Linked DNA regions of Homo sapiens: region 1 is linked to region 2. Evidence: promoter capture Hi-C in human tissues and cell types (Jung and others, 2019). All regions are on one chromosome and are shown on one strand. The core of a region is centred on a gene start or on the middle of the fragment in contact, and the rest is flanking DNA. Distances in the headings are between cores, read along the strand shown. Region 1 holds the start of SPTBN2 (spectrin beta, non-erythrocytic 2). Region 2 holds the start of RBM4B (RNA binding motif protein 4B).

Region 1 (7,573 bases), core at 4,383-6,882, 51 kb after region 2:
CATTAATGAGATGCAAGAGAGCTAAGGTCTAAGGCTTGTAGATTTGGGCTTTAATTCCCTGTAGAAGGAAAGGGAGCTTAATTTCTACGAGGCCTAGGACTCTTCTCATTCAAAATCCACCATTTCTCCCCACAGATTCTCTGGATTTGTTCTGTAAATATTTATATAAAAATATATTCTAGGGCAGAGTTGAATCACCCTGAGTAAAGAGTGCTGTGGGCAAGGCATGACCTGAACTAGCGTCACCTAATACTCTCAGCTTCTAGACGGGAAAGTAGTCCACACCTCAGGACCAAGTGTAATTCCATTTCTCTCGGCCTCTCAGATTAGTGCTTCCTAACCAGCAGCCACACTTAAGCTCAGCTCTGGGATGGACATCTCCAGCACTCAAACTCTCTCTGCACAGACCTGCCCACAAAAATGCCTACACCCAAGTTCCACCCTGCCCCCGCTTCGGTTTCCATGACCCCTTACTAGGAGTCACAAACTTACCAAGGCTAGCCCCCAGGAGTGTTTTGCTGGGCCAATAAGCTATTTTTAAATGACTGATTTTTTGGCCGGGTGCGGAGGCTCACGCCTGTAATCCCAGCACTTTGGGAGGCCAAGGTGGGCAGATCACCTGAGGTCAGGAGTTCGACAGCAGCCTGGCCAACAAGGCGAAACCCCCGTCTCTACTAAAAATACAAAAAATCAGCTGGGCATGGTGGCAGGTGCCTGTAGTTCCAGCTACTCGGGAGGCTGAGGCTGTCAAATTGCTTGAACCCAGGAGGTGGAGGTTGCAGTGAGCCAAGATTGCGCCATTGCACTCCAGCCTGGATGACAGAGTGAAATTTGTCTCAGAAAAAAAAAAAGACTGATTTGGATTCCTTTAGATGGGTCTACAGACTCAGCCACTTCACATATCTATGTTACCTGCCTGGCCCCAACTGTTGAGGTTTGCAAACCCTGCCTCATATTTTTGTACTCCACAAAGAGCAGAAACTCAAAGAAGCTAACCATCTGACCCTGTCTCCAAACCACAGTAGCTCTGAGGCCCCTGTAAGCTGCACAGAACCTAAACATGGACTGCTTAGGCTTATCTTTGGGGATCCAACTTGGTCCTCCCAAGGGGAGGGGCAGACAACCCTGGCCTTCAAGCAGGTCAGGTTCAGCTTCATGGAACCAGTTAATGATGGAAGCCAGAAAGGTTCTGCCTTTGTGTGTCCATGGGCACACACCTCCCTACCTACCCGAGTCTCACCACCCATCACTTCTCTCTTCTCCATACCTCCTTCCTTTCCAGAACCAGAGACTGCCAAGACCACAGCCCTGGTGGTAGGAAGTAGGGCTCAGGAGAAATGCAGAATTGGGGGTTTTGTTAAAGTTACAAAGGGGCCCAACTGGGAGCCAGACCCTCCAGGGAAGTCCAACTGTTAGAATGTCTCTGCGGATTCCTACCATTACCAGGAGAAAGTATGGAGCTAGAACCTCCTCTTCCCCCAAATAAAACCTCAGCCACTTAAATGCTCCTCTCTCCAAATTGAATTTGAAGCATGCATGCTGTGTGTTCTGAGTTTCCAGAAATGCTGTGATATGGATCAGGAACCAAGCTGGCACTGGTGTCCTTAGATCACAGACCCCCACAGGGCCACCATGTTGCAACTCCACAGCCTTCCATGTGAATGGTGCTCTCTGGCATTGTTCAGCATGTGGCTCTGAGGCTCTGCTACCTTTGTGTCTCTAGGTCTTGGTTTCCAAGCATTCTGGCTCTGTAGCTCCCTGGCCTTTTGGACAATATGCTGTGTTCTCAGCTTGTGTCCCCTGCTGCCATCTCTAGATTCCCACTGATTTCTATTTGCTTTTCTCCTACACATATCCAGCGCTGGTTTCTTGCCACTGAGTAGATCATTCCTCACCTATGACCAGGGTCTCCATGCTCACATTTCCTCAGTCGGCCAGCAGCCCCCCAGCTTCATGACCCCCTGTCATGAGGAAGCTGGAGAATCCTCAATCGTCCTCTCTTCCACAGATTCCTGAAGTCTGGCAATAGGGTGGTGCAGTAGCTAATCCAGATTACAGTCTCATCATACCTTATTCTTAGCAATTGACCTCAAGGCCAGGCCCAAGTAGCTTACACTGTTAGTGCTAGAAGAATGCCAACCCCCGCCGGCTGCAGGCTTGGGGTCCTGCTGGAATGTACTCCAGGCGCTGCTGGAGGCAGACTAGGCTCACCGTGCCGATCCTCCAGGGCAGTTTTCCTCTCTTTCAGCTGACATGTTAAGCTAGAAATCCTATACCCTGGGCTACAGGCTGCCTTGTATCCTAATTCTTCCTCTCACCACATCCTGCTCCTGATGAATTATTTCCCTCCCTCAGAGTTGATCATTCCCTCCTCTGTGCTTCCAGGGCACTTCGGCATGCAGCTAGTATTGTACTTATCACATCGCATTACGGTTAGTTGTTTACGTGTCTCTCTGCCCGCTCCACATTTAACTCATTGAGGACAAGGGCTGTCTTACTCGTTTTGGTGTTTTTCCAGACTCAGTACAACAGATATTCAATAAAGAGATATTGAATGACTTGACTATAATTCATTTTTTTTGGCCATGGAATTAATGTCTTTCTTAGGACTAGAGAGAAGCTCAAGGAAAGAATGAACACGGGATTGGAGAAGACCTGCTCCTGGGCTGGAATACTTTCAGGGTTGAGCTCAACAGCTCAGGTCTGGGGATTCTCAAACTTCCATGAATCACAACAACCTGGAGGACTGTTAAATCACAGGTCACCCCCCCATCCCCCAGTTTACGATTCAGTACTTCTGGGGTGGTACCTGGGAATGTGCATTTCTAACCTGTTCCCGGGTGACACTGAAGCTAATGGTCTGGGGACCACACTTTGAGGGCCACCCTTGTCCAAAGATGAGAAGCAGCTGGAATTGGTTAGAGGAGCCATGAGTGTTGAGAAGACACAAAGTTTCAGGGGTGAGTGTGACCCAGGGTTAGCTTCTAGGTCTGCTCAGGCCCTACCCCACACTAAACTCAAATATCACTTCCCCTCAGGAGCTCAGGCGATGGGAGAGGAAGATGAAGATGGAGTAGGTACCACAGGTAATGAAAGAAACAGCACAGCGAACCGCAGATATGCGGGAGGAGAACGGCAGAGCTAGAGAAGTCACGGGAAGGCAGAGTTGAACAAATGACAGTGAGATGAATAATAGATTAGAAGAAATGGGGACTTTGGCAAAGTTCAAATCTTATTTGCTTCTAAGTATAAATGGGTGGACTGGCAGAGAGATAAAACGAAAAAGAAGTCACAAATCAGCTCAGGGCCTCCAGGAAGGCAAGAGAAAGATGGGCCCAGGGCAGAAGGAAGGAACAGCAAAACCCCGACCCACCTCTCAGACTGTGTTCCTGATCAATTCCCTCGGAGGAAGTTAGGAACTGGGCTGAAGAGGGGGACTGAAATTTTATTTTCTCTTCTAGAATCCTCCAGTTATGGCAGATTTATTCAAATATTCAGATTCTTCACTCCCTTGCTATCTCCCTTCCCCAACCCGGGGTCACATCAATTTCTCTAAGGGAAGAATGTAAACTCCATCCTATCTTCTCCTCGGCCAATCCTTTGCCTTTCTGAATAAGCCAAGAGGTTGCCCCACACCTCAAGCTAAGACACATATTTGGAACTCACTCTGCCCCTCTTCACCTTCAAGGAAAACTGGTTTGTTGCTACCTCTGCCCATACCTGAAACCCCCGGGCTCTCCAGCGTTGGAACTGTGGCTGCTCCGAGAGGGGGAGGGCAGACGACATGTAGCAGGTTAAGACCGGGGCAAACCTGCACCTCACACAAGCATGCAATGTCCTGGGGTCAATGGGGTAAAGTTCCAAGCGAGTGGAAGGTAAATCACGACTGTGGCACCGGAGCCGGAACACCCCCGCGAGCAGGCCTTGCTGGGTAGTTCCGTGCGGGGCGGACCGCACAGCCCTATCAGCTTCCTGGCCACAGAAACGCCGCACGCGGCCGCTTCCCCGCCGCCCGAAGCGTCTGCTTTCTCCCCGGGCCAGTTCCGGCCACCACAGCCAACCGCGTGCCCCTCTCCCACACACTGTGGGGGAACAGAAGGGAGCGCGTGGAGCCAGCTGCCAAAGAGGCGAGGAGGAGCCCACGCGGCTCCGGGGAGGAGGGAGCCCGGCTCCCGCAGTCCGCCGGGCAGAGGCGGCCGAGCGCGCCCCCAGCACCTGGCCCGGCGCCGGCCCGTCCGCCCCGCAGCCCCGGCGACGCGAGGGGCCGGCGCTGTCAGACCCGCTCCCAGCCTCGCCGCGAACGTGTCCGTCAGCCCTAACTGTTCCAGACTCTTCTCCCGGCTCCAGAGAGGCCCGAGTCCCCCCCCCTCGGCCTTGGCCCCCACCGCCCTCATCCCGGTACCTGTGTGGCTGGCACGGGACCCTCTCCGTCCCGTCCCCGCCTGCTCCCGCCCCGGCTCACCCCGGCCGCCGGGACCCGACCCCGACCCCGACCCCGACCCCGCCGACCGCACGCGGCCGGACAAAGCGCGCCGCCCCGCGGGCCGGGACAAAGCGGGCGGGGCGCCGGCACCTACCTCGGCGCGGAGCCGCGGCCGGGCGGGCGGGGGCGCGGCGGGCGGGGGCGCACCGGTAGTTGCCGCGCCTGCAGCCCGGCCGCGACGGGCGGTTGCAGGCAGCGGCCGGGCGCACGGCGGGCGGCGGGCGGGCGCTGTCACGGGGCGCAGGCGGCGCGGGGGGCGCGCGGGGCGGGCGGCGGCGGGGCGCGTGGCGGCGGCGCGCGGGCGCGAGCGGCGGGACTGCGGCGCCGCGGAAGGAGGACAATAGCCTCCCCCTGCCGCAGGCCGCCGGCTCCCGCGGGAGGCCCGGGACCATCTGGAGCCGGCGGCCCCGCGGGGCTCTGGGCGGGGCCCGAGTCGCCCCTTCCCCGCCCAGCGCCATGGCAACCGAGGCCCCTCTCGGTGCTCCCCGCCGCTCCCCGCCCGGGGTAGTTGACCTGCCTCGGGGCGAACGCGGCAGCAGCTCCGAGGCCGGCTGCCGACCCCCAGCCACCTTCCGTGCGGGGTCCCCCCAAAACCCCGCCTTCCCGTCCTCGCTGGTCCCTGGGTCCCCCACCACAGCTTACAGGTCTTGATCTCCCCGGTTCGGACACCTCACCTTTGTCCCTATTCTGCTTTTCCTCCAAAATCCGTATCCCCGAGACACGCGATCCTTCCTCTAATGACACTGCCGACGAGGTTTCCCGAGATCCAGCCTCCGTTCCCCTTTCCTCTCCGGGCACCTCCAGTCCGTCTCCGCTAAGCATTCCTCTCACCCGTCCCCTCGCTCTCGCGTCCTCCTTCAGGCAGCTGGGCCGGCTCTCCCTCCCAGAACATCTCCATGGCACAGTGAAGATTCGTCTTCTACAGATCAGATGCTCCAAACAGGCATCTCAGCGCTTCTCAGCTCCTCTCATTTATCAACCAGGAGAATTCCGGCCTAGTCACCGTCTTGAGGGGGGTGGGGGTGGGGGCAGACATTTCTAGGCCTGACACGGCTGGGTTTCTCCTTGGTTTGTTAGCGTCTGAGTGGTCTAAGGTCCAAGGTCCTTAACCAAGGTGAACTGCTGCCTGCTTAGGAGAGGAAGGAATTATGCCCAAATCATGACAAACTCACAGAGTGCCAGGTGGGTGCTAAAAGCGCATCATCTCATGTGACACTCCCACCCCCACTCCAGCTCTGAGAAGTAGGTGCTGTTCTTCCAGATTAGAGAACTCAGCTCAGAGATGAGCCAGTGGTAACAGGGTGAGCTTTGTACAGAGCCGTTAGGTTATGTACTGCCCCTGAAGATGAGGGCCCGTTTCTATCCAGGGAATGCCTGAAATGGTCAAGTAAGGGCACTCAAAGAATGGGCTTTGAGTGAATTATTGGATTTAAGGTTTTATAATAGATTTATGGGTAATTTAGGATTTTGCTCCTTTCTGAAAAGGTATGCATACTGAAACAAATATGTGCAATTGAAGTACTTTCCAGATATGGTTTTGACAACCCTAACTAGTGGTGTCATCTACCTCGCCTTGGTTTTCCTAGTCTATAAAATGGGTTGGGAGGAGGGTTGGGGAGTTCCATTGAAAGATTACTTTGAAGTTCTCTCCTAGCTCTGATATCTGTGCTTCTACCACGAAACTGGAACTGGCTCTCTGGTGTGTACCTCACAGTTAGCTGCATTTGAGGCTATTTATTATTATTATTATTTTGAGACGGAGTCGTGCTCTGTCACCCAGGCTGGAGTACAGTGGCTTGATCTCGGCTCACTGCAACCTCCTCTTCCCGGGTTCAAGCAATTTTCCTGCCTCAGCCTCCCGAGTAGCTGGGATTACAGGTGCATGCCACCATGCCCGACTAATTTTTGTATCTTTAGTAGAGTCAGAGTTTTGCCATGTTGGCCAGGCTGTTCTTGAACTCCTGACCTCAGGTGATCTGCCTGCCTCAGCCTCCCAAAGTGCTGGGATTACAGACGTGAGCTGCCGTGCCAGGCCTGAGGCTATTTATTATTTTTAATAGCCACTCTTTCAGGCAATGGCATTAAAGAAACAAGGGCATAAACTGCAACTCTTCCCAGAGGTAGGATTATGTGTTGGTTGGTTCGGGGGAAGGAGGCACCAACCTGTGCATGACGGTCATCAGGGACACTTGGTCAGGGACATTAAAGCTGATGGGATGAGAATCAGCTGCCCATGGCCAGGCGCAGTGGCTCACCCTTGTAATCCCAGCACTTTGGGAGGCCGAGGCAGGTGGATCGCGAGGTCAGGAGTTCAAGACCAGCCTGGCCAACATGGTGAAACCCCTTCTCTACTAAAAATACACAAATTAGCCAGGCGTGGTGGTGGGCATGAAATCCCAGCTACTCAGGAGGCTGAGGCAGGAGAATCGCTTGAACCCGGGAGGCAGAGGTTGCAGTGAGCTGAGATTGTGCCACTGCACTTCAGCCTGGGCAACAAGAACGAGACTCCATCTCCAAAAAAAAAAAAAAAAATTAGAGAATCAGCTGCCCTGCCAAAGGAACTGGAACCACCAAGCTGCTGCTGCTGTACTGGTTACGGGAACTAAGGGTCTCAATGACAGCCTATAATATCGTGACCCAATTAGAAGTCAAGGGTATTAAGTCTTATGATTAGCAAAATAATATCTTTTATAATTTCCTATTTTCAGCATTTCATAATCCTTCAAGAAGCCTTGTAAGATAAACATTCTCATTCTTATTCTATTGATGAACAGACTGATGTTCAGACACCTAAGTGAATGTACAAGTTCACAGAATTAGTTCATGGTAGAAACTCCAGGTCTTCTGAATCCTAATATGTTCTTTCCTCTCTGCTAGACAGGGAGTATAGCAGAATGGTTAAAAGCATTGATTTTGGAGTCAGACTCCTTGGGTTTAAAACATAGTTCTGCCACCCACTGACTATGTGACCTTGGGCAAGTTACCTCCCTAGGATTCAGTTTCCTTACATGTAAAATGGCACCATAATGTGGGGAACATCAAATGAATTATTGCAGGTAAATGAATTATATGCAGCACATAGTAAGCACT
Region 2 (7,678 bases), core at 1,521-4,020:
AGCAAACCAATAAGGAAAGCTTCGCTATCACACTTTCAATAATTTTCTAACCAGAATAGAAACACTCATGGTTGCAAAGAGCAATCACCTGTCATCATAAAGAGCTTTTACTATCAAAACACTTTCACATCGATTTCTTCATTCTAGCCCCACTACAATCCTGTGAGGGAGGTACAGTAGGGATCATTAACTCCATAAGTGGGGACAATCTTAGTGAGGAAAATGAAGCAGAGAAATGTTAAAACACTTGTCCAAGGTCACACACTAGTTAATGGTAGGAAGTATCTGCAACCTTTGCCCTATGCTTTAAAGAGCAGCTAAAGGCCAAGGCATCACTGGCTGAAGCTGGAGATACTTGATGGTGCTCCTCTACCCATCTCCACTATGCAAACTTTCTTACCCTTCTCTGGTCAACTTTTCCTCTTCTCCCATTATTTTTCTCATTTTGTTTTTTAGTTTTAATAGAAGACCCAAAAGTACTTCTTAACAACCCCTTTAATGACACTCAGGGCAAAAAAGGTGTTGACTTAGGAACCACAAAAGTGGCTATGAACATGAGGTCCAAGACGATACTGTTAACAAAACACTTGTAGAACAGTGCTATCCAAAAGAATGTTCTATGATGATGGAAATGTTCTGTGTCTCTATTAATACGGTAGCCACAGGCCTCATGACTACTGAGTGCTTGAAACGTGTCTGGTATACACTTGAAAAACTGAATTTTAAATTTTATCTAATCTGTTAATTTCAATTTACTAAGCCGCATGTGGTTACCATATTAGCACAGTTCTAGAGTCTTCTGACAACCTCTTGTGGTATTAATGACAACATATGTACCTTTATTATCGGTATAAATAGTATGATATGCTCTACGATGCTTGTACTGAAATTTCTTCAGAAGCGGGACCATCATTCCCATTGAGTCTGATATATTTAGAAATTTCCTTTTCTGAGGGTGAAATGAACAGGTGGAGCAGAACACTCCATGGCATGTTTTTTTGACTCTGCTTGAAGAGACTGCACAACTTTGATCAACAAAAAGATACTCCCGCAGATCCAGACTTGCCACCCAGATTTATAATATAGGGCTTCCTCTAGATGTCTTTTTTCTTCTTTCCCACCAGTATCCACCCAAAGCAGTAAAGAATATAAATCTTAAGCACTTAAACCCTCAAATATAAGGCTTCCTGATCATCACCAAAGAAGCAGGTAAGCCACGGACCTTTATCCTCCCTTCTCTCATGAGGTACTCGTTTCCCCAAGCAGATTACACTTCCAACAGCACTCGAATCAATGCAAGAATCCCGCAGGGTAAAGTAACCCACAGTTTGTGATTCTATGCAGTCGGTGAGCAACATCTTAGCAAACCTGAAAAGGGGAAGTGTTTGCTTCCCCAGGGGTAAATTATGCTTAAGAGCGGTAAACATAATCTATTATTTCCAGCTAAAACAGAATGGAAGAGACCACCCAGCAAGTTCTATAGTCTTGTGTTCTTGCCTGTTTTGAGCTAGACCCCACTCGGCGCTACTACCCAGGCCCAGAGCAGTTCACCTTGAAACTCTGTGTTGTCAAGGCCCCTGATGGCCTCCACTGCATCCTCTGCCCGCTCCATGTGTACGAAGGCATAATCTTTCACGATGTCACATTCGATGACCGGACCATACTCCTCAAACTTGGCTCGAAGCTCTTGGTTGGTACAAGTGGGGCTGATGTTACCCACGTGTAACTTGGTTGAAGCTTTGCTCTTATTCTTGCTGGCTTCCACGTTGATGTTCACCCCATGAAGCTTGTAATGGTGCAGGTTGCGTATGGCATCCTCAGCTGCCGTCTTGTCTTCTATGTGCACAAAGCCGTAATTCTTAATGATGTCACATTCCAGCACCTTCCCATACTGCTCGAAGAGTGAGCGAATCTCCTGCTCTGTAGCCTCCCGGGGAAGGTTTCCGATGAACAGCTTCACCATCCTGACAAGAGCCTGGGAGAGAAACACAAGACTTCAAAAGTCAGGGGTGTGGTGGGAAATTTCGGTGCACTGCAGCATTTTCGTCTAATCCTCCAAAGTTCTTGCACCTTCAAGACCCTCGTACAGACATTCATTATTCTTCCTCAATAGAAGAAGGGCGGTTTGTTCTCGAGAAGTGCGAGCTATGCGTGACATGCAAACAGGAGGTCGAGGGTCAGCATGCATAGCCCAGTCTATCATCTCCGTGAAGTGGAGCGCAATGAAATACCAGAATTAGCTGCTTCATGTCTTAAAATGAGGGAAGAGAAAAGCCCAAGCAAAGGCAAGGGGCATCAATCGCAGTGCGCCTGGTAACAAGGTTTTGGAGGGAAATCTGTGTACCTCTCCTGCGCGCACTAGCGCCTTTCAAGATACTCTAAAAAGAAAAAAGTCCCCTTTCCCCCAAACCGGGGACCAACCACCTCGCCCCCAGCGGCCCACCCTCCAGCTTCTTCGCCCCAACAAAGACTCGACCCGACCCCTGCCCCGCCTCCTTCCGGAGACCCGGCCCCGCCTCCTCCCGTTGTCTTCCCAGACCTCCCGCTGCAAAATGAGAAACCCAAATCCGGGCCGTGCAGTCTGCCGGAGGCCCGGCCCGACCCGCCCCCGAGCTCCCCACATCACACACACACGACCCCCTCGCACCTCCGGGTGGCGGCAGCGACGGCGGCTCCCACGTCAGAGAGAACCTTACAAAATGGCGACGGCCGCTCGAGCCTGGACGCGACCGGGCCCTTTCTCGCGCGCCAGCTCACGCACGCGCGAGTGCGCGCTGCTTCCCTCCCCTTCCCCTCGCGGGAGCCGAGTGACCAATCCCGAGGCTGCATACAAATGACCACGCAGCACGGGGGCGGGGCCTGTTGGTGGTGGCGCGGCGCCGCGGAGGTCAGCCCACCCCCAGCCCCAGCCAGCCAGTCACCACCCTGGAAAGGGTCGCCACTGCTGCGTCAGAGGGGCTCTGAACGCAACCACTGCCTAGAAAAGCGGAGGCCTTGGGGAGTCGCTCACCACAATGGGTCCTGCTCTTGGGCCCTTTGAGGGGGGCGGGGAGCTAATGACAGAGGAATCTCCCCGAGGGCCCTAAAAAGGGGCTTTTGTAGCGGGCTGGCCGGCTTCTGTGGCAGCTTGGGGCAACATTTCAAAAATACAGGTGCGCCACATTTTAAGCAAAACTAGTCATTGTTTTGTAGCGCTTTAAACATTATTTTAAAGTTTGTCATTGCAGAGGTGTTATTTATTGCTACGGAAACTGAGAACCAAGGGGCAGAAAGATAACCTGGCAGAACTGGGACAGGCCTAAGAGGCATTGCTACCCAGGCTACGCTTAGTCATGTTTTGTTTGCTCGTGAGTATCCGTGGTCTGATTCTCTCTCACTCATTGTGTGTCCATCACAGTCCTGGTCTGTGGTGAGCACGCCAGAGGAATACTTGGTGGAGAGGCCCAGCGAGGTCCCTAGTTCTGGGTGGGACAGGGTCTCCTCGTACACACCAAGCTGGAAGTCTAGGCAACTGAGTTTCCCGACTGTCTAGCATTCAAAATTCAGCTGTGGTCCAAGGGCACCTCCTGGCGGTAAAAACAAGCTTAGGCGTGCCAGGTGCGGCGGCTCACGCCTATAATCCCAGCACTTTGGGAGGCCAAGGCGGGCGGATCACGAGTTCAGGAGTTCGACACCAGCTTGGCCAACATGGTGAAACCCCGTGTCTACTAAAAATACAAAAAATAGCCCGGCGTGGTGGCGGGCGCCTGTAATCCCAACTACTCGGGAGGCTGAGGCAGGAGAATCGTTGGAACCCGGGAGGCGGAGGTTGCAGTGAGCCGAGATGGCGTCACTGCACTCCAGCCTGGGTGACAGAGCAAGACTCGGTCTCAAAAAAAAAAAAAAAAGAAGTTTAGGCTGATTCCCCACTGTCACCTTCCAGCAAAGAGTAGCCTTTTATGGAGATTGATGGATTGGGTTTATCTCCTAGTAGAGCCCGCCAGGGAGGTTGTCAGCCACCATTCCTCATTTTAGTGGCTCCATAATGGCTTCTCTGATACCATCTGGGACACATTCCCCAGGCTGCCCTCTTCCACCCCAGCTACTTGGATATGTTCTTTACCTGAGTTCTTTTTGTTTCTCAGCCATTTCAGAAGAGGCACTGTCCTTCCAATTTTATTTTATTTTTATTTTTTGTTTAATTTTTTAAAGACAGAGTCTCACTGTGTCGCCCAGGCTGGAGGGCAGTGGTGCGATCTCGGCTTACTGCAACCTCCACCTCCTGCGTTCAAGCCATTTTCCTGCCTCAGCCTCCCGAGTAGCTGGGACTACAGGCGTGCGCTACCCCCCAGCTAATTTTTGTATTTTTAGTAGAGACAGGGTTTCACCGTGTTGGCCAGGCTGGTGTCGAACTCCCGACCTCAAGCGATCCGCTGGCCTTGGCATCCCAAAGTGTTGGGATTACAGGCGTGAGCCACCTCGCCCGGCCCTTAACTATTATTACTATTATTTTTGAGTCAGGGTGTCACTTTGTTGTCCAGGCTAGAGTGCAGTGGCACCATTATGGCTCACTGTAGCCTCGACCTCGCAGGCGCAAGTGATCTTCCTATCTTAGCCTCTGGAGCAGCTGGGACCACAGGTGTGGGCCACCCCATCCAGCTAATTTAAATTTTTTTTTTTTGTAGAGATGGGGGTCTCACTGTGTTGCCCAGGCTGGTCTCAAACTTCTGGGCTCAAGATGTTTCCACCACAGTCTCACAAAATGCTGGGATTCAGGTGTGAGCCACTGCACCCGGCTTATATGTGCTGCTAATTTAAAATAGCACTATCCTATGTTAATATTATCTAATGTTTATGCCCAAATTTCTCCTGGATTGTTACAAATGTCTTTTTACAGTTGATTTCTTCTAATCTGGACTTAAACATTGTACATTTGTATGCATTATGTAAATGGTGTGTTTTGAGTTGTATAGCTGTGTCTTACTATTTTTCCACTAAGGGCTATGTCGCCGCATGATGTCTAACTAGCGAGTAACGCAGTCCTCTGTGGTGTACAGTCACATATTGTACCTGTTCATCTCTGGGCATAGGGCACTCAGCTTCCAGCTCTCTGTCATTATAAACAAGGCTGCAGTGAACATGCTTAAGTATGTGCCCTAATTCTGTGTGAGAATTTGGGGGGATATAAAACCAGAGGTGGAATTGCTGGGTCATAGAGTATACGTAGAACTCACCTGTCTAAGTAGCACTGAATTCTCTGGAAAAGCTGCACCAGCATACTCTTCCACCTGTAGCATATGAGGGGCCTTGTATCTCTACATCCCTGCCAGTGATAGACATTATCCGCTTTTCTAATTTTTGTCAGTCTAATAGATATAAAGTGATATTTCATTGTTGCTTTAATTTGTATTTCTCTGGTTACTAATGATTTTAAGCATCCCTTCTTGTTGTCTTTTTTTTGTGTGTGATGGAGTCTCACTCTGTCGCTCAAGCTGGAGTGCAGTGGTACTATCTCGGCTCACTGCAGCCTCTGCCTCCTGGGTTCAAGCGATTCTTCTGCCTCAGCCTCCTGAGTAGCTGGGATTACAGGCGTGTGCCACCACCACGCCCGGCTAATTTTTGTATTTTTAGTAGAGACGAGGTTTCACCATATTGGTCAGGCTGGTCTTGAATTCCTGACCTTGTGATTCGCCCACCTCGGCCTCCCAAAGTGCTGGGATTACAGGTGTAAGCCACCACGCACAACCTTTTTTTTTTTTTATTAGACGGAGTCTTGCTCTGTCGCCCAAGCTGGAGTGCAGTGGTGCGATCTCAGCTCACTGCAACCTCCGCCTCCCAGGTTCAAGCAATTCTCCTGTCTCAGCCTCCTGAGTAGCTGGGACTACAGGCACGTGTCACCACACTTGGCTGATTTTTGTATTTTTAGTAGAGACGGGGTTTCACATTGGTCAGGCTGGTCTCGAACTCCTGACCTTAGGTGATCCACCCACCTTAGCCTCCCAAATTGCTGGGGTTAAAGGCGTGAGCCACTGTGCCCAGACTTGTTTTTTGAGAAAGGGTCTTGCTTTGTCATGCAGGCTGGAGTGCAGTGGCACGATCATAGCTTGCTGTAGCCTCTAGCTCCTGGGCTCAAATAATCCTCCTGCTTCAGGAGGCTGAAGCCCTCAGCCCTCAGCCTCCCAAGTAGCTAGGACTATATGCCCAGCTAATTTTTTTGTTTTTGGTAGAGACGAGTTCTCACTATGTTGCTAGTCAAACTCCTAGCCTCAAGTGATCCTCCCACTTCAGCCTCCCAAAACACTAGGATTACAGGTGTGAGGCAAATACACCTGGCCTCTTGAATTTTCGAGTTTATGCTTCTGTAAATTTCCTGTTCATATCTTTTGCCCATCTTTCTTTTCAGGTTGTAGGCTCCTTTTTTGTTGTTGATTTGTAAGGCTTTTTCATATATTCTAATCTCTTATTGGTCTCAAATACCATCTCTCATTCCACTAATTATTAACTCTGTCCATGGTGTCCTTCATTGAACAGAAATCCTTATTTCTTGTGCAATGAAATTAATTTTTATCTTAAAGCTGTGCTTTTGAATTTTTTTTTTTTTTTTGAGACAGCCTGTTGCCCAGGCTAGAGTGCAGTGGTGTGATCATGGCTCACTGCAGCCTCAACCCCCCAAGCTCAAGCAATCCTTCCATCTCAGCCTCCCAAGTAGGTGGGACTACAGGTGCATGCCACCATGCCTGGCTAATTTAAGAAATTTTTTTTGTAGAGATAGAGTTTCACTGTGTTGCCCAGGCTGGTCTTGAACTTCTGAGCTCCAGTGATCCTCCCATCTCGCCTCCCAAAGTGCTGGGATTACAGGTGAGCCACTGCACCTGGCCTGCTTTTGAACTTTTGTATAAGATGTTCTTTTGTAGCCTCCTTAGTCACAAGATATTCTCCTACATTTTATTCTATTAACGTTAGGTTTTTGTTTTTGTTTTTTGGGGGGATGGAGTTTCACTCTTGTCCAGGCTGGAGTGCAGTGGTGTGATCTGGTCTCACTGCAACCTCCGCCTCCCCCTCCCAGGTTCAGGCCATTCTCCTGCCTCAGCCTCCCGAGTAGCTGGGACTACAGGTGCGTGCCACCACGCCCGGCTAATTTTTGTATTTTTAGTAGAGATGGGGTTTCACTATATTGGCCAGGCTGGTCTCGAACTCCTGACCTCAGGTGATCTGCCCGCCTTGGCCTCCCAAAGTGCTGGGATCACAGGCGTGAGCCACTGTACCCGGCCTATTAACATATTTTTTGCCTTTTGCATTTAGGTCTGGAGCCCATTTATAGCAGTGCTATCCAATAAAAATATGTTAGCTACATATGCAATTTTAAAATTTCCAGCAAACACATTTAAAAAGTCATCAAAATAGTTGAAATTCACTTTAATGATACTTTTGAAACCCAATATATCTAAAATATTATTTCAACACATAATCAATATAAAAATTAAGGTATTTAAAGTTGTTGTCCTCTTCCATGCTTCATACCTGGTGTTTCAGAGTCATGACACACTTGGTTTGGCTACATCTCAGTAGCCACACATGGCTGGGTGGCTGCTGCTGTGGACAGCATGGACCTAAAGTCCACTCTTGTAGGTGATGTTAAGAATGCAAATATATTTTTCTCTACATAATCCTATTTTTTTTTTTTTGAGACAGGGTCTCA

Evidence for each region. The method cuts DNA at HindIII sites, captures the fragments that hold promoters and counts their contacts. A contact is called where the count stands out against the background at its distance.
Region 1: the fragment with the promoter of SPTBN2 here is called in contact with the fragment with the promoter of RBM4B in region 2 in 5 of the 25 tissues and cell types used here (IMR-90 fibroblasts, aorta, mesenchymal stem cells and 2 more).

What each region holds. Positions count from the first base shown.
Region 1 is chr11:66,723,584-66,731,156 of GRCh38, forward strand. SPTBN2 (spectrin beta, non-erythrocytic 2) reads right to left here and starts at 5,633. Exons shown (of 38, transcript NM_006946.4): 1 at 5,158-5,633. The HindIII fragment of the contact is 42,487 bases long and covers 1-7,573 here.
Region 2 is chr11:66,675,117-66,682,794 of GRCh38, forward strand. RBM4B (RNA binding motif protein 4B) reads right to left here and starts at 2,771. Exons shown (of 4, transcript NM_031492.4): 1 at 2,648-2,771; 2 at 1,552-1,975. The coding sequence starts at 1,963. SPTBN2 (spectrin beta, non-erythrocytic 2) reads right to left here. Exons shown (of 38, transcript NM_006946.4): 38 at 7,381-7,678. RefSeq lists silencers at 2,384-2,493, 2,694-2,973. The HindIII fragment of the contact is 6,531 bases long and covers 879-7,409 here.